2 separate regions of the Homo sapiens genome follow, and region 1 is linked to region 2. Evidence: promoter capture Hi-C in 16 types of primary human blood cells and fetal thymus (Javierre and others, 2016). All regions are on one chromosome and are shown on one strand. The core of a region is centred on a gene start or on the middle of the fragment in contact, and the rest is flanking DNA. Distances in the headings are between cores, read along the strand shown. Region 1 overlaps MBIP (MAP3K12 binding inhibitory protein 1). Region 2 holds the start of NUBPL (NUBP iron-sulfur cluster assembly factor, mitochondrial).

Region 1 (2,700 bases), core at 188-2,687, 4.7 Mb after region 2:
ATAATGTTTAAGCCAGTTTTGAGTTCAAATTTCTTAGTTGAAGCTAACAACATTCTCACTGATCCACTAATGAGCCTTTTAAACTTTGGCCTAATGAATTCTTTCTAGACTTTTTCTTAGTTTCACACAAGCACTAGCTTTTGAATGGCAAATTAGTAAATGAGTATATTTGACAAAGAAACTGTGAATGTCCAAGACAAAATGTTCTCATGAGCATTTCTGACTACTGAGATTTTAAAGACAGCATTAAAACTCACATTTTCCTTTGTGTCAAAAGTTGATTCAAAGAACATCTAGGTATGCTTATCAAGTTACAATAAATGGGAAATCATTAAGTATTAGAATTAGTAATTAAGAAATAATAGAGCTCAGATAATTATGCTCCTTCCTTTGCCAAACCAAGCTGGATACCTGTGGTAGGGCCTATGGGCAAATAAGGAATCAATGTTTAATTTGGCGATTGATCAGTCTCCTAACTTCCTAAGAGGTGGCTTTTTATACACTTGATGCAAATATAATTGCCCTTGGCCAGGCGTGGTGGCTCATGCCTGTAATCCCAGCACTTTGGGAGGCCGAGGCGGGTGGATCAAGAGGTCAGGAGATCAAGGCCATCCTGGCTAACATGGTGAAACCCAGTCTCTACTAAAAACACAAACAACTAGCCGGGTGTGGTGGCAGGTGCCTGCAGTCCCAGCTACTTGGGAGGCTGAGGCAGGAGAATGGCATGAACCCGGGAGGCGGAGGTTGCAGTGAGCCGAGACTGCACCACTGCACTCCAGCCTGGGCGACAGAGCAAGACACCATCTTAAAAAAAAAAAAAAAAAAAAAAAAAAAATTCCCCTTGTTCTCCTAATCGTTTAACCTGTAATATATTGATAGTTTCCATGCTATTAAACAATCAGATTACTACTGTATCATAGAACCAAAGCAAGAAATATTAGAATGAGGAAAATAAGGTCATCAGTCGCTCAGTGACTTAAAAACAGTAAAATGTGGCCTTTTGGACTTGTTTTAGCTCTGAGCAGAATATTTTGATAAAAAGAACACTTAGAAATACCATATCTACCGTGGATACACTAGATTAACTTTACTGTTTGTTTTAGGTATAAGGAAATCTCAGTACAGTTCCTGACTTATGATGGCTAGATAAGGTTTTTCAAATTTACAATGCTGTGAAAGTGACAGACATTCAGTAGAAACTGTACTTCAAATGCTGAATTTTGATCTTTTCCTGGGCTAGTGACATGTGATACGATGCTCTCTTGTGATGCTGGGCAGTGGCAGTGAGCAAAGCTCCCAGTCAGCCATGGGGTATGAGGGTAAACACCCGATACTCTACAGTGTACTGTGCTGCCAAGGGACTTTCCTCAACTGTACATGATAGGCCAGTGTACACATTCTGAACATGTTTTAGGCTAGGCTAAGCTATGATGTTTGGTAGGTTAGAGGTGTTGAATGCATTTTAGACTTAATAATATTTTCAGTTTTTGATGGGTTTATTGGGACATAACCCCATCTGTATAGAAGTATAAAAGGTGGACATTTTAACAGGTTTTGGTACCTGAGAGAAAATACTTGAGAGCACAGCACACTAAAGAAAGAGCTGGAGAAAGGTAATGCAAAATTGTCTCTCCTCACCCATTATTTTACCTTACCAGGTTCCTAGTCATGCACCGCTTAATGATGGGGATATATTCTGAGAAATGTGTTAATTTTGTCATTGTGTGAACATCATAGAGTATACTTATAGAAACCTAGATGGTACACACCTAGGCTATATGGTATAGTCTATTGCTCCTAGCATATAAACCTTATGGCATGTTTCTGTATTGAATACTGTAGGCAAGTGTAACACAATGGTATATGTGTATCTAAACACGTCTCAACATAGAAAAGATACAGTAAAAATACCATACTATAATTTTATGGGATCACTGTAATATATGCAGTTGACTGTTGACTGAAACATCCTTATGCAGAGCATGACTGTCATACACACGTTCACGCACATGCACACACACATATGAATCCAGGGAACCAGTGCTCTAAGGAAACTCAAGGGTAAGGAGGCCTCTTCCATGACTGGCTTGCTTTCTTTCAGTTGTAAAAGGCAACTGATTCTATGCGTGCAGTATCTAAAATGTTTTTCTTCCCTTCTAGTCCCAGAGCCCTGATTCAGACCTTCATTTCTCTCTGGCTTGGATAATGACATGTTTCCTAAACTAGTTTCCTTGACTCCAATTTCTCTCCAACTCAGACTTCATAATGCCACCAGACAGGGACCTAAATTACAAGTTTCTCTCTTTCTCTAAAACTTAATTGTGCTCCAATGATACTAGAAGTGCAAACTGGTTAGTGTGACCTTCAAGGCCCTCTGAAATATGTTTACAATCTAATTTTCTAGCTGAATCCAGTTGTTCACTCATGCTTCAGACCCACCACACGTTCACACGCACATGGCCTGTGTACATGATGTTGACCTGATTTTCAGCATTCCCCTCCCCCGATACTTCCCTTAAGAACCAGGAGTTACTGTTACAGACTAAAAATTACTCTCAGTCAGTGCTTTGAACAAAGTTAACACACCTTCAAAGTCCAATAATGAGCTATCAGCCAAGTCCTATCCATTCATTTGCACATCTACTCGATATTGACTACATTCTGTGTCTCAAAGATGAACAAGACATAGTTCCTGCCCTT
Region 2 (2,700 bases), core at 201-2,700:
ATCTCTCTTTCCTTTCCCCACATTTCCCCCTTTTCTATTCGACAAAACCGCCATCGTCATCATGGCCCGTTCTCAATGAGCTGTTGGGTACACCTCCTAGACAGGGTGGCGGCTGGGCAGAGGGGCCCCTCACTTCCCAGACGGGGTGGCCGGGCAGAGGTGACTCCACCTCCCGGACGGGGTGGCGGCCGGGCGGGGTCTGCCCCCCACCTCCCTCCGGGACGGGGCGGCTGACCGGATGGGGGCTGCCCCCCACGTCCCTCCCGGACGGGGCAGCTGGCCGGGCGGGGGCTTTTCTCTCTTCTTTCATCTTTCTTCCTTCTACTCTCTTCTTCTTTCTTCTTCCTTCTTCTTTCTTCTCCTTTTAATTTCCTCTTCCTCCTTCCTCCTTCCTTCTTTCTTCTTCTTCTGACAAGGTGTCACTCTGCTGCCCACGCTGGAGTGCAGTGGTGCAATCATAGCTCACTGCATCCTTGAACTCCTGGCTCAAGCAATCCTCTTGCTTTGGCCTCCCAAAGTGTTGGAATTACACGCGTGAGCCACCATGCCTAGCCTTAGCAGTCCATTTCTAACCTCTTTACAACAATCTCCTTGCCATTCTCCCAGCTAACTTCTACACATTATTCAGATTCAGCATTCAGCTTAGATATTACCTAATTTAGAAGCTTCCCCTGATTGAATTGAGTGCCCTTTCTTTGTATCACTTTGTCCTTTCTCCTGTATCCCTCAATGCTTTTCTCCTGTACTTATCATATTATACCGCAATTTTGTTGTTAACTTATTCTGTCTTTTGCACTGGATTATAAAGCCCTTTAGTGGAGGAATTATGTCGGTCTCAATGCTGAATATTTTAAGTCTACTGTAGTACTCGGTACATAGTAGTTGCTCAACGAATATTTGTTAAATAAATGAGTCTTAAGTCTGGAAGAACTTGCAAAGTTCTTTACCAGGTTGCTGGTAAAGCAACCTGACCTTTCTTTCAGGGAACTGTCAGCAACACAAGCCATGAATACCAACGCAAAACAGACTCTCACTGTAGATCACACGGGAAAAAATAAAATAAAAAGGTAAAATCCTTAACGGTGGTAGTATTTAAATGACCATATACTGCTTAGTAAGAAATCCTGGGGTCATTTTCAAGGTCCCCCATTTCCTACTTTTGTTAAGCTGGGTCAAGTCTCTTTAAACTTTCTCCGTTTTCTTGTCCATAAAAAGAGTATACTAGGTAAGTCTTCTGTCTACCTCGGGACTTCTGTAAGTATCATAAGAGATGTTTTATATGACAACACTTCACAAACGTTTAGTAAAACGCTGCAAAATGTTTGTAGCTGGCTATAAACAAGATCATGCAGATTGGGTTCCTGAGCCAACAAACCCAAAGAAGACCGGTTGCTAGGAAGAGAAAGCCGAGCGTTGCTCCGTGACGTCATCACTCCGCGCCACCCGCGACAGTTTCCCAGCAGGGCTCACAGCAGCGTTCCGCGTCATGGGGATTTGGCAGCGTCTGCTGCTTTTTGGTGGGGTGTCGCTCCGGGCTGGTGGCGGGGCCACTGCCCCGCTTGGGGGAAGCCGAGCGATGGTTTGTGGGCGCCAGGTCCGTGGTGCTGCAGGGCAGGGGGAAGCGGGCTGACAGATGCTGGGCTGCAGGGCCGCAGATGCCCTGGCATTGCTTCTTGCCAAAGACTCGCCTCAGTTCCTGAGACCCCCAGTGTGCTGGACGTGCCTACTTTTCAGGCAGGCCCAGGCTGAGGCGTGGCGGGACTTGAAACACAGTTAGAACGTAGATGTGGTATTCTACATTGCTTTCTTGGCTTTGGGTTATTTATCAAATAGATTGAAGAAAAGCAAAACACGTGGAAGCCTTATCTCCGTAAAGAGGCAGCGTTTTTACATTTTTAAACGTTCAGCGTATCCTGCTAGAAAAATTTCAATTTAAGCAATGTGTCTTTACAATTGTTATCAGTAGTAGTAGGTAAATGTCTCCATAGTGAAGATGAGCAGAATTAGAAAAGAAAGCCCTCTTAATTGCAAACCCCAGATTGTTTTTGCTTTTACAGTGTGATGATGGAGATGGCTTATTTAAAACGGCTTTTTATTATTATTATTTTTTAAAGTTGTCTGGCGCCGGGAGTGAGACCCTAAAACAAAGAAGAACACAAATCATGTCCCGAGGACTTCCAAAGCAGAAACCGATAGAAGGTGTTAAACAAGTTATAGTTGTGGCTTCTGGAAAGGGTGGAGTCGGAAAATCTACTACAGCAGGTATTATAGGATATTAATTCTATTCCTGATTAAGAACTTATGCCAACAGACAAGTGCACACTATTGAAATTATAGTTTTGTGTTTTAAAAATTTATTTGTGAAGTTCCTAACATGTGATTCCTTAGTTTCAGGAGTTGGTAGCGGGTAGACGCTTAGATTTTGGAGTTAGACAAAAGTAGGTACTAGCCGGGTCTCCCACCCCTTAACTCAGGAAAAAGTGGTCAGATTGTACAGCAAATCTTCAGTTCACTTAACTGTAAAATGGAGATAACTTCTTTCATAAGATGGTTATTCAAATTGCACAAGCTAACCACTTAGCTTAGTGTTTACTAGTGTTCAATAATTGGTTGCTGTTATTTTTAAAACATCTAGTAACTTTTTTTTTTTGTTTTTTTTTTTTTTTTTGAGACGGAATCTCGCTCTGTCACCCAGGCTGT

The links. The method cuts DNA at HindIII sites, captures the fragments that hold promoters and counts their contacts. A CHiCAGO score of 5 or more calls a contact.
Region 1: a contact is called between a fragment that was not itself captured here and the fragment with the promoter of NUBPL in region 2, in 1 of 17 cell types (total CD4 T cells). The highest score is 5.6, in total CD4 T cells.

Annotation. Positions count from the first base shown.
Region 1 is chr14:36,301,685-36,304,384 of GRCh38, forward strand. The region is part of intron 7 of MBIP (MAP3K12 binding inhibitory protein 1); the gene reads right to left. Among named protein-coding and RNA genes, the nearest start is that of MBIP, 18 kb to the right of the region's middle. The HindIII fragment of the contact is 2,950 bases long and covers 1-2,700 here.
Region 2 is chr14:31,559,954-31,562,653 of GRCh38, forward strand. NUBPL (NUBP iron-sulfur cluster assembly factor, mitochondrial) reads left to right here and starts at 1,451. Exons shown (of 11, transcript NM_025152.3): 1 at 1,451-1,594; 2 at 2,115-2,262. The coding sequence starts at 1,487. It overlaps NUBPL-DT (NUBPL divergent transcript), which reads right to left and starts at 1,378. Exons shown (of 3, transcript XR_943720.2): 1 at 1,158-1,378. RefSeq lists enhancers at 1,294-1,693, 1,620-2,175. The HindIII fragment of the contact is 6,263 bases long and covers 664-2,700 here.